2 separate regions of the Homo sapiens genome follow, and region 1 is linked to region 2. Evidence: promoter capture Hi-C in 16 types of primary human blood cells and fetal thymus (Javierre and others, 2016). All regions are on one chromosome and are shown on one strand. The core of a region is centred on a gene start or on the middle of the fragment in contact, and the rest is flanking DNA. Distances in the headings are between cores, read along the strand shown. Region 1 holds the start of GOT1L1 (glutamic-oxaloacetic transaminase 1 like 1). Region 2 holds the start of BRF2 (BRF2 general transcription factor IIIB subunit).

What was found. The method cuts DNA at HindIII sites, captures the fragments that hold promoters and counts their contacts. A CHiCAGO score of 5 or more calls a contact.
Region 1: the fragment with the promoter of GOT1L1 here is called in contact with the fragment with the promoter of BRF2 in region 2 in 17 of 17 cell types (erythroblasts, M1 macrophages, megakaryocytes and 14 more); the score reaches 18.3 in erythroblasts.

What each region holds. Positions count from the first base shown.
Region 1 is chr8:37,937,861-37,941,935 of GRCh38, reverse strand. It overlaps GOT1L1 (glutamic-oxaloacetic transaminase 1 like 1), which reads left to right and starts at 1,812. Exons shown (of 9, transcript NM_152413.3): 1 at 1,812-2,021; 2 at 3,055-3,236. The coding sequence starts at 1,907. RefSeq lists an enhancer at 1,790-2,306. The HindIII fragment of the contact is 5,963 bases long and covers 1-2,121 here.
Region 2 is chr8:37,847,639-37,852,328 of GRCh38, reverse strand. It overlaps BRF2 (BRF2 general transcription factor IIIB subunit), which reads left to right and starts at 2,468. Exons shown (of 4, transcript NM_018310.4): 1 at 2,468-2,699; 2 at 3,674-3,733. The coding sequence starts at 2,546. RefSeq lists enhancers at 2,263-2,612, 2,653-2,792. The HindIII fragment of the contact is 8,285 bases long and covers 1-4,690 here.

The sequences.
Region 1 (4,075 bases), core at 563-3,062, 90 kb before region 2:
GCTAATTTTAAAATTTTTTGTGGAGTGGGTGGGGGGGGTCTCCCTATGTTGCTCAGGCTGGTCTTGAGCTCCTGGGCTCAAGTGATCCTCCCGCCTCAGTCTCCCAAAGCACTAGGATTGCAGGTGTGAGCCACCATGCCTGGCTGTGGCTGACCCTTTGTATGCCTAAATCAGGCAGTCATTGGCTACCCCTGTCAGTGGGGGTGAAACCTCCAGGTGGTTTCTAGGCTAGCTGACTCCTGCCAGCCAAGCACAATTCTCCAGAGAACACAGGCATATAAGCCTTGTCCACCAGCGAAGCAGCAGCTGGGGCCGGGCACATTGGTGGTGAAGGCCTTCTGGGTGAGACATCAACAGTGTTTGCAACAATCATTTAAAGAGTTATTTAACATCAGGCTGGGTGTGGTGGCTCATGCCTGTAATCCTAACACTTTGGGAGGCTGAGGTAGGCAGATCACTTGAGGTCAGGAGTTTGAGACCAGTCTGGCCAACGTGGTGAAACCCTGTCTCTACTAAAAATACAAAAAAAAGCCGGGCGCAGTGACTCACGCCTGTAATCCCAGCACTTTGGGAGGCCCAGGTGGGCAGATCACCTGAGGTCTGGAGTTTGAGACCAGCCTGATCAACATGGAGAAATCCCCCTCTCTACTAAAAATACAAAATTAGTTGGGTGTGGTGGCGCATGCCTGTAATCCCAGCTACTCGGGAGGCTGAGGCAGGAGAATCTCTTGAACCTGGGAAGCAGAGGTTGCAGTGAGCCGAGATCACACCACTGCACTCCAATGTGGGCAGCAAGAGCGAGACTCTGTCTCAAAAAAAAAAAAAAAAAAAAAGAGAGAGTCATTAAACATCAAAAGGAAAAGAAAGCAAGCAATATGCAGACTGACTCTATAGAGGCTGGCTCTTTTCTCCCCTTGGCCTCTGCTGTCTATACTTACTAGTTGGCTGTCATTGAAACTTAACAAATGGCCAGGTGTGGTGGCTCATGCCTGTAATCCCAGCAGTTTGGGAGGCCAAGGCAGGCAGATCACCTGAGGCAAGGAGTTCGAGACTATCGACAAAGTGAGACTCCATCTCAAAAAAAAAAAAAACCAAAAAAAGAAAGAAAAAGAAACTTAACAAACATATGTAGAAGTCTTGGCTCTAGATAACTGAGAGAAATAGGACTGGCTTAGTGAGTTGCCAATTATATTCTAATAATAGGATTCTTTATTAAAACAACTGTGGAAGAAAACAGTGTTTGCTTTTTATTCCTTTTGAAATCTGGGGCACTTTGCAAAATGGAAATCAATGCCTCGACTTGCATTGGTGTGTGATCTGGGGTTTTTGCTTCTGCAGGAGAAGCCCTATCTGGCTTATTGGCTGCCTGCCTTGCCCTATGTCTTTCTTTCTTTTTTTTTTTTTTAATTTGTATAAATGTGTGAAGTACAAGTGTAATTTTGTTAGATGCATACATCGCATAGTGGTGAAGTCAGGGCTTTTAGGGTATCCATAACCCCAACAATGTACATTGTATCTGTTAAGTAATCTCCCATTATCCTTGCCCTGTCATCTAAGGAGTGGGCTTGTTACTTTGGACTGAGCCACCTGGGGCTAGAGAAGAGAAGGCATTGAGTGAGGGAAACGGGCTTGGGAATTCCGGAGATTGTTATCCTGCCCTGCCCGCTGTCTGAGGGGATTCTCCTCAAGTACCCTGGAATGTTCCTGTGGCCCCTGTGGATCGCCACCACAAAGATCATGAGGTTCTGTTGCCCTGGCAACCCGTTGTCCAGCGCCTCTGCACTGGGGCTGCCAAGGTTCCAGGAAGAGGCAGGACTGCCCGGCCCAGCCTTGGAGGAAGACTTCTGGGCAGAAGCGGAACACAGGAGCAGAGACACATAGTCTTGGCTCCAGTTTCGTTTCAGTTATGCCCACCCTTTCAGTGTTCATGGATGTGCCCCTCGCCCACAAGCTAGAGGGCAGCTTGTTAAAGACCTACAAACAAGATGATTACCCGAACAAGATATTCTTAGCCTATAGAGGTAGATGCCTAGCAGTTCTGAAGTATAAGACTTAAGTGATGGTAACTGCCTCTAGGAGGACAGTGTTCCCTGCTGCAGGGGGAGGGGTGCAGCCCAAGCTTCTGTGGGTGGAGAGATCTTTTCTTGTTAACAGAATTACCCAGTGGGGAAAAGTGCAGATAAGGTCCCAGGTCATTCCATGCTCTCTGCCCTTCTCTGGGGGCTTCTAGGGATTTGGTGAGAGCTATGTCCTCTTCCACAACTCTATGCTTGGGGGCCTGCATGGCCATCCCACACTTCTTCAGATTCTTACCTCCTCTCTCTCTCTTTCTCTTTCTCTTCCTGTTCTTGAACCAAGAATGGTTCTCCAGATTGAGCTTTCTGCTATGCAACTGGGGCTCACCACTGTGAAAGTCAGGGTTACCTTTATTTAGCTTCATCTACCTATAACTCTCATTTTGCATATATATATATATATATATATATATATATATATATATATATTTTTTTTTTTTTTTTCTTGAGACAGGGCCTCACTCTGTTGCCCAGGCTGAAGTGCAGTGGCAAGATCTCAGCTCACTGCCACCTTTGCCTCCTGGGCTCAAACCATCCTCTTGCCTCAGCCTCCTGAGTAGCTGGGACTACAGGCGCTGGTCACCATGTCTGGCTGTTTTGTATTTTTTTGTAGAGACAGGGTTTCATCATGTTGCCCAGGCTGATCTTGAACTCCTGAACTCAAGTGATCCACCCACCTTAGCCTCCCGAAGTGCTGGGATTACAGGCCTGAGCCACCAATCCTGGGCTTGTATAATTTTTAACCTTTAAAATGGCATAGGTTTCAGTTGTCTTTTTTAAAAAGACAAAAATAATACACATTCACTAACAGCATATTCTTTTCATCAAGGAGAAAAGAAAAGGGAAAGTTGTATTTTCACAGGCACCTTCCCACAGCCCCATGGAGTCCAGGAGAGATTTGTTTGCAGGCTGTCTGCAGAGCTCAGCCCTGGGGGCCCAAACCAGGCATCTGGAGCTCCCTCTGTGGTTTTCCTCACAGTCTGCATGACAAATGAAGGCCATCCCTGGGTTTCTCTCGTGGTGCAGAAGACTCGACTACAGATTTCACAGGATCCCTCCCTGAATTATGAGTACTTGCCCACCATGGGCCTGAAATCATTCATCCAGGCCTCTCTAGCACTCCTCTTTGGAAAGCACAGCCAAGCCATTGTGGAGAACAGGGTGAGAAGGTGGGCCCTCCCCTGGCTCATTTAGACACAGAGAGTGGCGATCTGGGTCTGCACAACCTTAAACCCGAAGGGGACCTCGGAGGGCCCCCTGGTATTGATAAAAGAGATACCTGAGGCTCAGAGAGTCCACAAGTCCTTAGCCATCGAGTCAGGATCGGAATCTCAGTCCAGTGGTATTCCCACCTGCTCACACTGCTGATTTGAAAGCTCTTTCAAGACAGGAATGATCTGAATTGGAGGTGGTGTTAGTATTCCCATTACTGTTTTATTTTTTAACCTATTATATATATTTTTTGAGACAGAGTCTCACTCTGTCACCCAGGCTAGAGTGCAGTGGTGCCATCTCAGCTCACTGCAACCTCCACCTCCCAGGTTCAAGCAATTCTGGTGCTGCATCCTCCTGAGTAGCTGGAATCACAGGCATGTGCCATCACGCCCAGCTAATTTTTGTATTTTTTGTAGAGACAGGGTTTCACCATGTTGGCCAGGCTGGTCTCAAACTCCTGGCCTCAGGGGATTCCCTGCCTCGTCCTCCCAAAGTGCTGGGATTACAGGCATGAGCTACTGCGTCTCGCCTCCATTACTGTTTTAGAGTGTTATTTCTGTCTATTTCTTTTTATTTTTTAATGTTTATTTACTTATTATTTTTTTGAGACGGAGTCTCACTCTGTCACCCAGACTGGAGTGCAGTGGCCTGATCTCCGCTCACTGCAACTTCCGCCTTCCGGGTTCAAGTGATTCTCCTGCCTCAGCCTCTTGAGTAGCGGGGATTACACATGCCCAACACCACATCCGGCTAATTTTTGTATTTTTAGTAGATACGGGGTTTCA
Region 2 (4,690 bases), core at 1,219-3,718:
AGCCAATCGAGGGAGGAAGAGGACTGCATTCAGGTGCCAGATCCTCCTCTTCCTCAGTGCCTTCCTCTACTCTCCCCTCTACAAAGAACTCTGGCCTCAATGTCAGCATTATACATCTGGACCACAGCTGGGCTGCTGTTCAATGGCCTCCCCATGACTAGCTTTCTGCTCTGGCCAAGCCCACCCTGGGCACTCGGGGCATCTGTTAAAAAGATAATCACTGCCAGGCATGGTGGCTCATGCCTGTAATCCCAGCACTTTGGGAGGCCGAGGTGGGCAGATCACCTGAGGTCAGAAGTTTGAGACCAGCCTGGCCAACACGGTGAAATCCCATCTCTACTAAAAATACAAAAACTAGCCAGGCATGGTGGTGGGCGCGTGTGGTCCTAGCTACTTGGGAGGCTGAGGCAGAAGAATTGCTTGAACCCGGGAAGTGGAGGCTGCAGTGAGCTGAGACTGTGCCACTGCACTTCAGCCTGGGCGACAGAGTGAGACTCCTCTCAAAATAAATAAATAAATAAAATTAAAAAATAAGATAATCACTACCAGGAATGATAACTCTTAGAAGAACTGGGAGCAGTGGAGAGGGCACCAAGATGATTTCCACGTCTGTCCAGATTTCCTGGAGCAAGGCAAATACATTTCCCAAATAAATGGACTTCTTCCTGAGAAAGTGGAGAACCCCAAACTTACACATCTTAGTAGAGGGCGCCATCTTCTGGCCTGGACCCTGCCCCCTCCCAGCCTGTGTGTGCCCGAGGACCAGGCTCTCCTAGGCTCCCAGTAAGTACATCATGTGTGACTGGGAAAGACAACCAGCTTTCTCCTTCCGTGGCTGGCTGCAGGATCATAAAACTGCTTTTCCACTTTACAATCAATCAGGTTGGGTCAGGCAGGATTTCAAGGCTTCTGTCCTAGGTAGATGGGCTCTGTAAAGTCCCGCTTAAAAAAAAAGTGAAGGTAGGTTCAAGATCTGCACACAACTGGGGATGAGGGGAGTCTGATGCTCTGCTGTGTGATCATGCAAGGAACTGTTCCCAGTGCAAGTTATGTCGCTTTCAGGGACACTTTCTTCATCCAAATAAGAATGTCAACCACACTAAAACTAATGGATGTCTCTGAGTGGTGTGTGTGTGCGGGTGCGCATGTGCAAATGTATCTTAATATTTAACTGTCAGACAGCCAGAAATAAGCTCTCATCCTGTATCTCACGCTAGTGGGGAGGTCTAGAAAAGGCGGGGGGGCTTGGACTGCCGGATCCCACCCACGATTAATGTGCTGAAGCCCCCTTCTGTTATGATACTAAAGTAATTCAAATTGAAGAGAAAGGACCGTTGGGTATTATTGTGTCTCTTGGCCCTCCAATGTGAGCGATCCCCATGGGAATGGACGGGATGTCTCTGAAAAGGAGTAGTGATTCTCACACTCTGAGAAAGCAGTCTCTTAGGGAAGGGATGGTGTCTTTAGGTTTGGATATCACGTGTAAAAACTGGGTGTGGAAAAGAAGGGAGTGACACTTCTTAAAGGTATGTTTTATTTTGTTTGAGATGGAGTCTCGCTCTGCCACCCAGGCTGGAGTGCAGTGGCGCGATCTTGGCTCACTGCGCCTCCTGCGCCTCCTGGGTTCAAGCGATTCTCCTGCCTCAGCCTCCTGAGTAGCTGGGATTAGAGACGTGCACCACCACGCCCAGCTAATTTTTGTGTATTTTTAGTAGAGACGGGATTTCACCATGTTGCCCAGGCTGGTCTCAAACTCCCGAGCTCAGGTGATCCACCTGCCTCGGCCTTCCAAAGTGCTGGGATTACAGGCGTGAGCCACCACGCCCAGATAGCTCAAGGTTTTTTAAAAAACATCTGAATCTGCGTGCTTGCGCCGCTCCAGGTCTCCATCACTCCATATTCTTTCACTCCAAACTCCTTTAGACATTCCTGCCTGGCCTCCAAAAGCGTTTGGGTTTGCATCTCTGGATTTTTTTTTCAACTTCCTCATTTTACAGTTGAGAAAAACAGGAGGTAAAGAGAGGAAGGAATCTGCTTTAGGAAGCAGCTCTGGAAAGCAGAACACAGTTTCCTGCTCCCGCTCTCTCTCCACTACTCTCCCTTTAAAAAATATACTTTCTTCTATGGCCAATTAAACATTCATTACCAACCTGCGATTCCCTTAGGACTTTAAAAGGAGGGTTGTTCAGGGGTGACAACAATCTTCTGTCTGTTATACGTGTCCATGTAGGCAAAAACTTTCCCAAATTCAACCCCAGTCTAGGTCCCAAAAACTAACTACAGAGTGCAGGGAAACCAGACAGCTACAGTTCAGCCCAGGAACCTCCTCTCCTAGCTCACGTTTCTACCCGAGCCCGCGGAGGCACAGACCGGAAGTGGCGCGCAGCCTCCCAGCGGAGGGAACCGCCTATGCCTCCGTCGCGCTGGCCGGAAGACGGGGGTGCAACCCTTTGAAGTGTCCCCTCCTACTTCTTGCTGCCTCACGGTTGCTGTTGCAGACCCAGGAGTCTCTGAAGGCTTCCGCGGCTTTGGGGCCGGTTGTGAGATGCCAGGCAGAGGCCGCTGCCCGGACTGCGGCTCCACGGAGCTGGTGGAAGACTCGCACTATTCGCAGAGCCAGCTGGTGTGCTCCGACTGCGGCTGCGTGGTCACCGAGGGGGTCCTTACCACTACCTTCAGCGACGAGGGCAATCTCCGAGGTACTTGTGGCCCTGGGGACAGCCTGGGGCGGTGGAGGGATTAACATCAGATTCCTTTTGCCTCCCCGCTCCCCCCATACTCCTAACTGTAACGCACACACTTAATTTGAGAGAAAATGACCTAAAGTGAGCGAGGGAGCTGAAGGAGATGGGGGCTGCCATTCATCTGTGTTTTCCCAGCACTTAGTATCGGGCATAGATGGTGCGTGTAATAAATATTGAATAAGTGAGACAGAAACAAAAGTTCCACTCATCTTGCCATGTCTGGTCATTGTGGAAGGATTGCCGATACGATTATAGCAGGTATTATTACCCTGAAATAGTTTTAAGCACAAACTGGCAAAACATCACTTTTCTTTGCTTTCCAAGTTTCTGACCAGTGCAGCCCTCAAAATCTGCAGCCATTGTCTGGGTGGGGTGGCTTACGCCTGTAATCCCAGTGCTTTGGGAGGCAGAGCCGAGAGGATTGCTTGAGCCCAGGATCTCGAGACCAGCCTTGGTAACGTAACGAGACAAGTGCCTAAAAAAATTTTTTTTTAATTAGCCAGGTATGGTGGCATACACCTGTAATCCCAGCTACCCAGGAATCTGAGGTAGGAGGATTGCTTGAGCCTGGAAGTTGAAGGCTGCCGTGAGCTGTGATCGCACCACTGTGCTCCAGCCTGGACTATAGAGGGAAACTCCTTAAACAAACAACAACAAAATCTGCTGCTAGGAAAATTGCCTGTATGGAATGTACTGGAAGGATGACTGGAAATTTGGAACACTTGGAGCTGCTTTAATGCAGTCCTAACCTTTCCCAGTCTCTGTGTATTCGGAACCTCTTGTAGACATAGAAAACCAGATGGGGCCTTTAACTGTGCAGCAGCAGATGCTCAATGATTTGAATTTTGCGTCCTGGTTTTGTGTGGTGGGAGGGCAGGGGTCTGATGAATAAAGGCTAAGCACACTATTTGTTGTTTATTATCTTACAGAGGTAACATATTCCCGAAGCACAGGGGAAAACGAACAAGTTAGTCGCAGCCAGCAACGAGGTGAGAATTGACCTTTTACAACACAGTGGCTTTAAAGAAAACTATCCTAGGCCAGGTGCTGTGGCTCACGCCTGTAATCCCAGCACTTTGGGAGGCCTAGGCAGGTGGATCACCTGAGGTCAGGAGTTCAAGACCAGCCTGGCAAACATAGCGAAACCCCGTCTCTACTAAAAATACAAAAATTAGCTGGGCATGGTGGCATGTACCTGTAGTCCCAGCTACTTGGCAGGCTGAGGCAGGAGAATCGCTTGAACCTGGGAGGTGGAGGTTGCAGTGAGCTGAGATCGCGCCACTGCACTCCAGCCTGGGTGACAGAGTGAGACTCCATCTCAAAAAAATAATAATGAGCCGGGCGCGGTGGCTCATGCCTGTAATCCCAGCACTTTGGGAGGCCGAGGCGGGCGGATCACGAGGTCAGGAGATTGAGACCATCCTGGTTAACACGATGAAACCCCATCTCTACTAAAAATACAAAAAAATTAGCCGGGCGTGATGGTGGGTGCCTGTAGTCCCAGCTACTCGGGAGGCTGAGGCAGGAGAATGGCGTGAACCCGGGAGGCGGAGCTTGCAGTGAGCCGAGATCGCACCACAGCACTCCGGCCTGGGTGACAGAGCGAGACTCTGTCTCAAAAAATAATAATAATAATAATAATAATAATAATAATAAAAGAAAACTATCCTGGTGGCCTAGCCCAGCTTTTCACTTTTCCTATTTTCAGCATTGCTGGTGTGAGGTAGAGTAGAAGAGAATGGTAATTAGGAATTTAAAATGGGGATGGTGGCTCACACCTGTAATCCCAGACTTTGGGAGGCCGAGACGGGCAGATCGCTTGAGGTCAGGAGTTCAAGACCAGCCTGGCCAACATGGTGAAACCCCGTCTCTACTAAAAATACAAAAATTAGCTGGGCCTGGTGGTGCACACCTGTAATCCCAGCTACTCGGGAGGCTGAGGCAGG